Linked DNA regions of Homo sapiens: region 2 is linked to region 1. Evidence: promoter capture Hi-C in 16 types of primary human blood cells and fetal thymus (Javierre and others, 2016). All regions are on one chromosome and are shown on one strand. The core of a region is centred on a gene start or on the middle of the fragment in contact, and the rest is flanking DNA. Distances in the headings are between cores, read along the strand shown. Region 1 holds the start of UTY (ubiquitously transcribed tetratricopeptide repeat containing, Y-linked). Region 2 has its middle 620 kb from the start of NLGN4Y-AS1.

Region 1 (6,620 bases), core at 3,603-6,102:
ACTTAAAGGACTATTTGTTCAATCTAAACTGAGAGAGGTCTTACTTCAATACGACCTTCATAAAAGTTTTCCATTCATGGCACTCTCAAGTTTGTTCTGCTCTGAGTTGCAGCAGCAATTTATAAGCCAATCATGTGAAGATTCAAAGCAAGTTCATAAAATATGCCAGTCATTTTATGACAGCCATTGACTAATTTACAAAATATGTAGGTTTAGGTCTTAATTTGTTGAATGAAACAATCTTATATTCTTTAAAATACAAATTAGCTCTCTAGACAGCTCATTAAAATGGGATCATTCGTTAGCATCACAGTAAGTTGCAGTGCAAAAATAACCTTCAAAACTAAAAATCAATCTATGTCAGAACAGATGTATAATACTGTGGTTGGAAAGCACTAAAATTTAATTTTGGCTTACAGCATTATGCCTATAAATAAATTTTGCCACCTGAGTCACAGACAAAACAGGCAAAACAATCTTATTTGGCAATTTAAATAATATCAAATGTTCCCTAGTTATTTCAATTTGACTCTTTTAAAAGCTAGCTAGTTAGTAATAAAAGTAGGCTGGATGCAGTGGCTCACTCCTGTAATCCCAGCACTTTGGGAGGCTGAGGAGAGCAGATCACCTGAGGTCAGGAGTTCCAGACCAGCCTGGCCAACATGATGAAACCCTGTCTCTACTACAAATACAAAAAATTAGCCAAGCATGGTGGTGGATACCTGTAATCCCAGCTACTTGGGAGGCTGAGGCAGGAGAATCACTTGAACCCAGAACACAGAGGTTGCAGTGAGGTGAGACCGCACTATTCCACTCCAGCCAGGGCAACAAGAGTGAAACTCCATCTCGGGGGAAAAAAAAGTAAAGTAAACCAATACCAGAAAAGTGCCCATTTATTATCACATAGTTTGGAACTGTGCCTAGATATCAAAATATTTTCTATAATTGCTTCAGATATGTATGTCCAACGTTGTACCCAAATTTTCTATTAGCATTCTTACATAATGCCTACTTAATACTTTGTCCAGTAATACGTAAACAATAACAACTCTAATTGTTTGGAAGACAACATCCAAACTGTTCCTGATACACCAAATTAAAGACCTAATTCTAAATAACAAAACATGACATTATTTCTATAGTTGCTTTTTTAACTCAAAACACTATTTTTACAACTGGAAATGAAGTTCTACAGGTTACAGGTTAGCAAACAAAACGCATATAACGCAAGATCTTAAATATCACCTTTCAAATATTACAGTATAAAAAACCACTCAAAGCATTTTAATAGGCGTTTCTCCTGTTAATGCCTCTAGCATTATATTGAAGGCATACTGTAATAGTAATATTCTATTTGACAGAGTGAAACTCTATCATAATACAAACAAAATCAACCTAAAACGTTTTCCAACATGAAATAAAAGTTACTATTGCTAAAATCTGTTTTTCACTTAATTGAACTGCGTATTATTTAAATACGAGCAAGTTATTAAGCTTCAACCAAAAAGTTTTTGCTGAAAAGTATTTACACTAATTCAGATGACAATCTTATAAAAATTAATAAAAATCTTATAAAACATAAGTTACAGAATTTTAAGGAAATCTATTGTTACAACCATCCTAATGGTTTGATATGCGGGTTCACGTATGAGGTCAAAAAAAAAAAAAATCAGAGAAACTAGTCGTTGGGATAGAGCATCCTCAATGTCCAGAAAACTTGACAGGGAAAAAAGCATATTTATAACAATATTTTAAACCTTTAGAAGCTTGTAAAACAATACTGACATTAGTAAAATCTATAAATAAAACTTTCATAGAAAACATAAATACGAATAAAAACTGAAATATCAGTGAAATAGATCATTCTAAGAACTTTTTTAAAAAACAGTGATATATGCAAAGCTCTGTGAGAAAGGGAAAAAATACTTTATTATACATACTGTAGAATAATTTGTCTTGGAGAACAGGTACTATGGTTTGAATATGTCCCCCAAAGTTCATGCATTGAAAACATAATCCTCAATGCAACAGTGTTGTGAAATGATGTCTTTAAGATTTGACAACATCATAAGCAGGCTGCTCTCATGGATGGGTTAATGTCATAGTGAGGATAGGTTCATTACAGAGAGTTAGGCATCCCCCATCTCTTGCACTGTGATATACTTTCTTGCCCTTCCACCTTCTCCAAAGAATGATGCAGCACTAAAGCCCTCATGAAACGCAGCCCCTTGATCCTGGACTTCCCAGCCTTCAGAATCCTGAGCCAAATGAAGTGAAATTGAGTTAATATTTTTTTCATTTCAAAAAAGTCACTGCAGTTTAATATACGGCATTACTCAGTGTTTTATGAAGCTACAGTTCTCCCCAAACATAATGAAACCACTTTCTCATATTTAAAATGTTACTGTAATCAAAATTGGAAAGGATCAATATGTGAAAAAAAAATTCCTTAAAATTTAAACCCCATATTGTCTATCTGAAAAGTTCATTCCAAACTAAAATGTTAACCACAACCCACTGAGAATTTATCCTAACTCCAGCATATGAAGATTTAAAGTTCTCAACCAGTATTTTCCCACATTATCCCAGAAAACATCAAATTACTTTTATTTCATTATCATAACTATTTTAAACATTAAGGCAGATCGAGTCACTGTTGCTTAAATCGTATCATTGATACTATAACATGTTTTTCATAAAGCTATTTTCACTTGCATAATCAAAGTTTAACTCATGTTTCATTTATCAGTCAAATAAAGTGGATTTACTAACTATATATATACACATTATACATACATATATATATTACATTTTAGTTTTCTGATCAGTATTTGCCCCCAAAACAAACATACAAAGGAGATTATAGGTAAAAGAACTCAGCGTCTGTACTGAATTAAACTACAAAGTAAAACGTCTTGGTAAGTAAAATGTTCATCCTGAGAAAATAATTAGTATTTCCTTGTCAAATACAATAATAAACTGAAATTCTTAACTACTGGCTTCAGCATCTAAAAGATGGCGCGATTGTTGTACCGTTCTTATTTCACGGGACCAATTGACAACATACAAATACTTTAACAAGATTTTGGTGAGAGGGTAAAAAACGATACACACAGGAATATTCCAGGGCCAAGTTACGCAACAATTCACGTGGGAGTAACTAAACATGCTGCAATTAATAAGCACATATAGGTTTAAAAATGCTGCTGTCAATGTTGGAGATAACGCAAGAATTCTACTTTTAAATAATAATAATTTTTAATAAGCAACATGAAGCTACGTCAGCGCTCTTTACGGTCTATTCCTTGCTAAGGTTTCCGGGTTAATACCTCCACCCTCTTCCCAAGCTTCCCCCTTTATTGCTCCTCCCCCTTTTTACCCGCCATCTTGGCTGATAGGAGCAGCCATTAACTAAACGACAGTGCCAACTTTTCACACAAACAACAAATTCTTCCCACTGTGAGCATGACACCTAAGAAACAAGGTTCCTGAATGGAAAAAGCACACACATTCATGAAATCACATTTGCAGCACTGTGCATCCTAAAAAAGTCAACAAATCACTAAACTTCAGGCTAAACATACACGCATCAGTTTATAGGTCAAATATCTACTGCAAACTCTTCACCGCTGTAACTTACTTGCTACTTACACTTAGGACACCAGGGATATTTTTTTTAAAAAGGCAAAAAAATGTTTAAAATTAGACACCAAGAGCCAAATACCAAAAGGCGAGGGGAAGAAGCAGGAAGTTATGAATTTTGAAAACTGTACACATTCACTATTTGTGACGCTAAAATTCAGGAACAAAAGGCCCTAAAGTAACAGGCATGTGGTGTAGACCCGGTTTAGCCCGGTCCCAAAGCGTCCGATTTTTTTTTTCCTCAGAGTAGAAGGGAGTCTGGAGCAAGGGGCGAAGTATTCCAGAGTACGGGGACAGCAAAGGCAAGAAACACTTTTCCGACCCCTTGGCCATGGAGCAGAGCCAAAATAAATACTGGCTGGGCGGTAAGGAACGCGGGGCCTTGGTAGAGCAAAGTGCGGACCAAAGACTTTGCGTCTGGTTGCTTTTACCTTGCCTAGTAGGGTCTTCGTTCTGGCGCCATCTTCATGAAGCCTCACGAACCCGAAGAGACGGCTGTAGAGAGAGAGACACAGAGCTTGTTAATGGTCTGAGAAAGCCAGTGACTTGCTCCTTCCCGAGTCCAAGAGCGACAGCGACAGATTGGTGAGTGCCAAGCTGAGGATGACCCCGTCATCAACGTGGGCAAGCTGCGTCCAGGCCTTCCCGGAGAGTATCGCCAGCCAACCAGGCGGGTGATGGAGGTGCGTACCTGTCCATGCCACCAAGCGCCTCCCTTTCCTCGACTGTCAGGCTAACAGACTCCTCTTCACTCTCGCGGCTCGCTTTTCCTTCCGCCATTTTCTTTGCCTCATCACCGAAGGCAACAGCGGCGGTAGTGAGCGACACTGCGCAGGATTTCATGGAAACAACAAATTTCCAAGTCCCACGACGATACCCAACCTTAATCGAGTAGTTGAAAAGACGCCTTCAATCGCTGCTTGAGACTGTGACGCCAATTTTATCGCCTCCTCAGCGGCTGCAAGGAAAAAAGCTGAGGCAAAGACTTAAGCTACCGAAGCACGGGCAGCGGAACTCGGCTACCTGGATCACATCTGGGAAACTACAGGGAAGGCAGAAGCTCGCAGTGCTGGAGAGCACAGCAGAATTTCTTAAAATCACAAACTTTGCCAGCACCAGCACAAAGTTGTAATTGTGTCACGGGCGAACCCCACGCAGCCGCCGCGACCTCCCCGCTCCCAACCACTTAGTTGTAGCCAATCTAGGCGACTGATTCGTCTCACGTGATCTTTGTTGACTTACGTCAGGCATTGCTCCACTGTACTCCTAGGCTGCTGGGACCCCGCCCAGCCAGTTCGCCAAGGACCTAGGAACATGACAGAGGCTGACTGATTCTGACCGCTGGTTGGTTGATGGTCACGTCTATGGAGAAAAGGGTAGTCTCTGGGATGGAACAACCTGTAGGTTGTGCTAGTTAAATGCATTAAGATAGAAAATGGAGTGTCTGTGCTGGGTGTTTTTGCAGTTGCGATACGCTTGAAGGGGAAGAGAGCGATGGGAAGGGCGGCATCGGGCATCACCCACGGGGCGCAAATGCGAAAAGAGGACACCATGGACTTTAGGAGAGTCCGTAATGAGGCTCCCACTGTCACAAGCCTTGCGAATGCGAGACCTTGCGGGGCATGGCAGGGAAGCTGCGCAGGCCCTAAACCTTCACCCTCAAGACTTTTGGCCCTAAGGCCTTGTCACCTCCATAGGCTGGTTCTTTGCCCATTTCCTCTCCACTGACCAAGTCTAAAGAGAAGGCATAATATCTTATGACCTCAGTCGGTAAGCCAGGCCCTAGGGAATCAACGTGGCAACTGCATTTATCAGTTCATGATATTATCTAAACAACAAACGATGAGCAAAAAAAAAAAAAAAAAAAAAAGTTACTCCACAAACCCAAAATGTTTATTTCTATTGTGATAATGATAATTCCGTGAGGTCTCAGTAAGAGTAGGAGCTTCTGTGGACAGGAATTATAAGAACAATAATTAAGACCTTCATCACACTTTCAAGATGCAGTAACCCTTAGAAAAGAAAAAAACACCACTTTTTTCTTACTTTCTCAATTGTAACCAAAATTATAAATAATAGGTAAAAGAATTTATTTCTGAACCCCAAATATCTGAGAGAGGTCTTAGTCAATTTAAAAAGTTTATTTTGCAAGACTTACCCATGATACATTTGCCCAAGGTGGTCAGGGCACAGCTTGCTTTTGTACGTTTTAGGGAAACATGATTGGTTCGGTCAGGTAAGAGGGACAGCTCGAAGCGGGGGCTTCCATGTTAGAAATAGATAAGAGACAGGTCGGGCGCTGTGGTTTACGCCAGTAATCCCAGCACTTTGGGAGGCCGAGGCGGGCAGATGACCTAACGTTGGGAGTTTCAGACCAGCGTCACCAACATGGAAAAACCCCGTCTCTACTAAAAATACAAAATTAACAGAGCATGGTGGCGCATGCCTGTAATCTCAGCTACTCTGAAGACTGAGGCAGGCGAATCGCTTGAACCCAAGAGGCGGAGGTTGCGGTGAGCCGAGATGGCACCATTGCATTCCAGCCTGGGCAACAAGAGCAAAACTCCGTCTCAAAAAAAAAAAAAAAAAAAAAAATGTAGATAAGAGACAAGAGTTTGCATGCTTTTGAGTCCTTGATCAGCCTCCTACTGAATACAGAATTTAGTCCGGCTAGTAACTCTGTATTTTTACATAAATAAATAATAAGGCAGAGGAAGCAATCAGATATGCAGTTGTCTCTTGTGCGCCTCACAGGGATAACTTTGAGTTGGGTCTGTCCTTTGTCCACAAGGAATTTCCTTGTGGGCACGTTGTGAGGAACGTATGTAGCTTCTTATCTTTGTACGTATCTTATTTAGGAATAAAATGGGAGGCAAGTTTAGTGACATAGTTCCCAGCTTGACTTTTCCGTTACTTAGTGATTTTGGGATCCCAAGATTAATTTTTTTTTCTCATATTATATGGCATATGTATGTTGA
Region 2 (6,810 bases), core at 2,666-5,165, 1.9 Mb after region 1:
ACATATCTGCATATGTATAAATTCATTTGTGTATCTCAGATTTTACTTATCTAATTCTACCTAGGGTTTCTCAAAAGAGCCAAAAAGCATAGGGTATGGTTCCTGCTATGCAGAGTGTACCTCTGGTACTCAAAGTAGCAAAGTGGGAGTTATATTGGCAAAAGGAGGCATAGCTTGCTAACCACAGGCACAGCTCAAGTTACCAAGCCTTCCACACGTGGGGACTCTGAAGGATGAGGAGTCAGAAATGCTCATTCACATTCTCAAAGAGCAACTGCCTTTTATTCTACAAGTCCAATTACCAGGGAAGGACAGCTGGTAAGAGAACGCCTTTTCTTTGAACAGTTAGGGGCTCGGCACATACATAATTAAGGCTAGCTCAGTGTTCTAACTATGTCAGTAATATGGCCTTATGAGTTGTCACTGTCAGTCAGTTGGACAAACTACATGAAAGATATCCAGAATTCAATTAGATATTCTTTCAACAGCTGTACCTGGGACTGTACCTGACCTGAGATGTATAATGAAAGAAGTTAGTAAGAATGGAGGATTCTTGTCAAGTTCAAAGATTATTGGATTTATGTAAAAAAATGAAAAATCCAATCACCTGCATGGGAATGTAAAGTACCTGGGAGGGGAAGTGTTTTCCTTAATGTCTCCTAACAACCAAATCATTTAGAGACATGTTTAAGAAAGGCAAGACCACTGAATACATTTTCTGTGTTACTTATTATTTTATTACTTGTACTCTTTAATTAAATTCAGCCTGTGAGAAAAATAATTCTATAAATAATCATTTAAATACATACCTGAATTATTAACACTTACAATTTAAGACAATAAGCATGATGTTGAAATATTAAGAAGTTTTGGTTCATCATTTTTATAAACTTCACTTATTGTGCTTAAGATGATGACTATTTAAAGGGGTTTCATTCATTAATTCAGACAACTGAACTACTCAACAAAGCCATAAAATATATTAGTTTTATAAGTGTGATTAAACAGTATAAAGGTGAAGTTTATGATAAATTTGTAAAGGGATTGAAACAATGTTATGACTTATGAACAGTGACTGTTAACGTTTACTAGATTTTTTGTTTTTGCAGACAGACTCACTCTGTCACCCAGGCTGGAGTGCAGTGGCATGATCTTGGGTTACTGCAACCTCTGCCTCCTGGGTTCAAGTGATCCTCATGCCTCAGCCTCCCAAGTAGCATGGATTACAGATGTGTACTACCAGATGCAGCTAATTTTTGTATTTTTAGTTGAGATGGGATTTCACCATGTTGCCCAGGCTGTCTTGAACCCCTGGGCTCAGGTGATCCATCTGCCTCAGCCTCCAAAAGTGCTGCAATTACAGGAATGAGCCACCACACCCAGCCAACATTTGCTAGATTTATCAGCGAAATAAACAGAAAAAGCTTAGGGAACAAAAAAGTTTTTGAATCTAACTTTAATAGCTTATAAATATTTAGAATTAAAGTGTAGTGGTGAACTCAGGACACAGGAAGTCCTACAGCAATATTAAGCAGCCACAGTACACCATGCCTGTGTGTGTAAGCTCATCAGAAAGTGGAGCATGAAAAAGGGCTAGGGACTCAATGGCACCAGCAGCAGAGTCTCTGCCCCGGAGAATTACACTCCTGGGATTCCAAGCTGGTACCCAAACACTTTCCCATAAGAAATAAGAGATGGTCAGGGACATTCTGAAATGAGAGAGCTCCTCAGGTGCGTAAGGGTTATGTGAATATGGGAGTGGGTATCTAACCTCTTGTTTTAATATTTCTATCTGGGGAAATGTGTTCTAACTATCAAAGTACTACAAAACAAATTTATCTTAGGTCTTGTGTTTATATTCTAATGTGGATACTAATGCATGATTTTGTGAATAAAAATCAGGTACCCTGAGATTTGGTGAAACAATGGGGGCCCAAAATGCTCAACCCATAAATAAGCAGGAATTCATATTTTTAAATATGAGGTTATAAATCCCCTGCCCAAACCCCCACAATCTCTCTTTTCTATTAGTTACTGTGAGTAAAGTATAGTTGCACTTAAATGCCGCTGGACTGTGAGCCCCTGCAGGTGAAATTACAAGTTAAAACATAGTCCTCATGGGTGAAGAAAGGTCAGAGCGTACCCTTAGCCTTTGGGCAACCATTGCTTTGAACATAATTAGAGAATGCAAGTATACAGGAAAGTGGTGCCAGCATATAGTTAGTTATATCATGGCATTTCATTAACAACATTTGATAACATTTAAAGATCACAGGGCACATACAAAATGATATGCCTTCTTCCTTTCCATTTTATATCCCCATCCTGGCTGCAGTATGTAGAAAATGAGGGGTGGAAAGAAGGCGATCTAATATATTGGCTCCATCTAGTCCCTGCTCTGTCACGTAACATGTATACATTCATTCAAGGAGATAAAAATTGCCCGAAGTCTCTCTGTCAATACACATGCCATGTTGGGCTGGTGTTCTGAATGTTGAGACTCCAGCAGTCAACAGAACAGGCCTAGAGCCTGGCATCCATGGAGGACACGTTGTAGGACCCAACATTGCTCAGCATTTTGCTGCCATCCCCAAGAGAGTGATGCACAGCTCTTCTCAGGCTCTGAGTTGCGATCATTCTCAGACCTGAGGGGATATTACCTGAAGGCGAGAAGAATGGGATGCAAAAACAGTGACCAGTGACCATGACCTAAGGAAGTGCCATTTACTAATTTAGTATTTTATTGTATAATTCCATGAACTTTTATCTTATAATACAATTTTATTCCTTATTCAAAAACACTGACCTTTTAAAGATCTCACATCTGGGCCACAGAACTTCTGTGAAGGCAAAGGAAGGAGCCTCTTAACCCTTCTTATTACCAGACATGTCATACTCAGGCAGTACACAGCATACAAGGCGCCGTCCAACTCTGAAAAAAAAAAAAAAAAAAAAAGACTGGGAAAGGAAGATGATTGTGTGTAAAATATGTGACACGGAGCACCACCACACAAATGGTTAGTTTCCATGTTTATCACCGGCATGGTGAATGGAGTTCAAAATGTATTCCAAAGCACTTTCTTTTTACTTCCTTCTATGGAAAATCAACTGTACTTGAAAATCATGGTGCATCCCATGGCTAAATAACTCCAAACCCAGGAGGTGGGACTGGGCCCTCTACTTCTCCTTGACATTTGTAACCCAGCTGGGACAAGAAAAGGACAAGGGAGTGGAATAAAAGGACTTCAAAGTTGCAAATTCTGCATCCTTACAGTCAACAGAGATTAAGCTGGAAGTGGCAGGCTTTCGCTCAGGATTGGGGTGGGGATTCAGGTTTTGATGTAGGGTTGGGGGAGGATTTGGAGGCTGACTGAAGACTAACTAGGGATCCAGAGCTACTCCCTCTGTATCAGAGTTGCATATTCTCTTCCAGGCTACCCAGTGAATTTCTTTCTAACTCCACGTGTTTTTTTTGTTTGTTTGTTTGTTTTTTTTTTTTAAAAAACAAAAACATGATAGGCATACAGTTAAATTTACATTTCTAGACCCTTCCTAGACCAACTATCCAACTCTGTGTACATATGTATTCTCATTGAGGAAGGGGACTTAGAAATAATAAGTTTAAATTGGCTTCTAGGGGTCAAGAACAGTGGCTTGCACTTGTAATCACAGCACTTTAGGAAGCCAAGGCAGGTAGATCACTTGAGCCCTGGAGTTTGAGACCAGCCTGGGCAACATGGCAAAACTCCATCTCTATTAAAAATACACAAATTAGCCAGGTGTGGTGGTGCACACCTGTAGTCCCAGCTACTTGGGAAGCTGAGGCAGGACAATCACTTGAGCCTGGAAGGCAGAGGTTGCAGTGAGCTGAGACTGCACCATTGCACTCTAGCCTGTGCAACAGAATGAGATTCTGTCTCAAAAAATAATAATAAAAGTAAAAAATAAACTGACTTCTAGGTACTAATGGAACAGAAATTAAAGAATGTGTGAGCAAAAACTCAGTTATATGTAAGAAAACCCAATTCCCCCCTGAGAAAGAGAAAGAGCTAGAGTCCTTTGAAAATTAACTGCCTGTTTTTCTGTGGCTAGTAAGCCTTATCACTCCTACTTTCCCAGCATGGTGAATATCTTGTTTCTCTAGCTGAGCAGCTGCAAGGTCACTAGACAGATAAACTCAAGTCACAAAACTTGTTTTTCGTTGAAAAGTAAGAAATCATGTAATACATCTCTCAATTAATTGAATAACTGCATTTGTTTCTTGCGTCTGTAATATGCTTCTCTCTGTACAGATCTCCCTCAGCCCCACAAAATACTTAAAAGGTAACTTAACTCTTTGTTCAGGGCTTAGTCCTTTGGATGTTAATCCGACTGGGCCAGTGCAACTAAATAATACATATCCTCCTCCTGAACCCCATCGGTCTCTCTGATTACTTACCAATACCATCACATTTCTGGGAGCTCATCCAGGATTGGAGATTTACTGTCTCCTTTGCCTGTGGGACTAGAGCCCCAGGGCCAGGGGAAACCCAGCATCCAAGGCATGCCATGAGGGAGCTTCACCCAGATGGAAACCAGCTCTCCCCTGATCCCAGTGCCCTGGCCACTAGTGTAATGGAACCAGGGATGGAGCTGCAGGATGATACCAGCACTTCATAAACCATGGTAAGGAGTAAGAGCCCAAGGCAGCAAAGCCCATCCCATAGGGACAAAGGGGAGCCTGATCACCTGTTGGGGACTGACAATTAATCAAAGCTAGAGCATCTGGGGACAGCAGGAATGGCCTGCCAACTTGGATGAACCTCATGTCCCCACTAACAAAATGAAAGTGGTTCATTGGAACTGAAAAAAAGGAGAAAATGGGCCGATAGAGTGGCAAGTGCAGCAAGGCAGAGCTTGCTGTCAGGGTGGCAAGAGTAGCTTGCTACTCCAACTGGGAGTGTGTGGGTGCATGTGAACCTGCCCAGGACACAAAAGAGGCTCATTTAGTCTGATGAGGAGTCCTGCGGTAGGAGTGGTGTGTGTATTTGTGTGAATGTGGGAGTCTAACTGCAGTCAACCAGGACAGAAGAGACTTGTTTCACCCAGTGAGGAGTCCTGGGGCAGGGGAGGTGTGTGAAAGTATGTTAAAGAGATGGTCTCAGGAGAGGCCAACATTGGCAATGATGTGGGGAGGCACAAGTCCTTTAGCACAGGCTGTGTGCTCTGAGGTGAGTGTGGGAAAATCAGACCTAGGACATTGCATACAGGTGATAGGACCAGATCTGCAGCCACAGCAGGCTCTAACAGGAGAATGCATGTTCCTGGCTAAGCAGCATCTGAAACTCCCATAATAGGACCCGGTCTGATGGACCAGAGAGTAAAAGTGACAGTGAAAGTGCGATGCAAGAGAGAAAATGGGAGAGCAAGTGTCAAAACCAACTCCTTTGGAGTGCATGATAAAGAATTTTGAAAAAGCGTTTAGAGATAATTATAGGATAAGACTGGATGTTCCAAAGTTAAGGATATACTGTGAATTAGACTAGCCTTCTTTCAATGTCAGATGGCTGGCTGAAGGCACTACAGAGAAATTGGTCGTGTTTTAAGGTGGTGACTAGGGTTGGAGGATAGCCAGGGCATTCAGACCTAGTCTTCATATAGACTCATGGCTAAATGAATGCAGCATTGCCTAGCAGCTTATTGTAGAATGCTCGCAGCTCACGTTGAGAGAAATCAGCTGCACTGGCAACTACAGAGTTAAAGGGAAAGTCACAGAGGCTTGTAGCACGCAGAGCCAAAAGTGAAAGTAAAAATCAGCTGCCCTGGAAGCTACGGAGACAAAAGAAAAGTCTCAAGAAAGAGAAAACCGGCTTTGCAAGAACTATAGGAGGGAACAGAGACCCCTCCTCCCTACATTCCAATCTACCCCCCTTTACCAAGGCTAACTGCCCCTAAGGAGCTAAATTCAAACAGATACATGCTCCTAGTCTCACTTGAGAAGGAGAAATCAGAGCTCGGGAAGTTGTGAAAGTTTCAAAAAGTCAGGCCATCTCAGTTCTGACCATGCCAATGTTATGCTCATGTCTCTTAAGAGGACAAGGGGACCCCCACTAGGACCCAGATGATGCAGTCCAGCTTCAACACCTACAAAGTGCCAAGAAGTACTTCTGCAAAGGCTAAATGATGGTAAAAGAAAAGGCAACCAATATAAAAAGCTCAGAGGTGCTCCAACATGGAGATAAAAGCATCAGCCAGTGTTATAAAAGATTTTTAACAGCTGGAACTAAGAAATAAAGTACAAGGAAGAAATTCTACAGCTCTTAAATGCCGTATGGGACCCAAAAGAGGTGGCAGTGATGCACTGAAAGGGGCACCAAAAAGCAAGAACACTAAAGGCCAAAGAAAATAGAAAGGCAGACAGGGCAAAGAAAGCTTCAATGACAACTCCACGTTCTAAAGAGAAAGACTTAGCTATGCCTCTCCTCCTGGAGATTCCCCTCCCAGAGATCCCAAGCTACACTCTAGATGAAAAGTTTTGGTTTGGTCAGGAAACAGGGAAATATATTAAAAGTGAACGGTGGCTGTTCTCTGATGGGAGGCTAGCTGCCCCAGAGACAATAGCCCCAGATTTGTAAAATAGTTCCACCAAAGAACACACATTAGAAGCATGATCCTAGAGACTTTGATAGGTTGACATTTCTATGTGTCACAGCTCTCTGCCATCATGCGTGCTGTCTGCAAACAACGTCTATCCTGTGCCTGAAATAATCCAAAACAAGGACCTACTTGGCCCCAGGAGTTCAGGAAACAGAAGCCAGGCCCTGTGAAAAA

Evidence for each region. The method cuts DNA at HindIII sites, captures the fragments that hold promoters and counts their contacts. A CHiCAGO score of 5 or more calls a contact.
Region 2: a contact is called between a fragment that was not itself captured here and the fragment with the promoter of UTY in region 1, in 1 of 17 cell types (fetal thymus). The highest score is 5.4, in fetal thymus.

Annotation. Positions count from the first base shown.
Region 1 is chrY:13,475,181-13,481,800 of GRCh38, forward strand. It overlaps UTY (ubiquitously transcribed tetratricopeptide repeat containing, Y-linked), which reads right to left and starts at 4,853. Exons shown (of 30, transcript NM_001258249.2): 1 at 4,334-4,853; 2 at 4,074-4,137. The coding sequence starts at 4,485. MIR12120 (microRNA 12120) reads left to right here and starts at 3,997; the gene lies at 3,997-4,086. The HindIII fragment of the contact is 7,265 bases long and covers 3,346-6,620 here.
Region 2 is chrY:15,419,010-15,425,819 of GRCh38, forward strand. No RefSeq gene overlaps it. Among named protein-coding and RNA genes, the nearest start is that of NLGN4Y-AS1, 620 kb to the left of the region's middle. The HindIII fragment of the contact is 4,987 bases long and covers 1,423-6,409 here.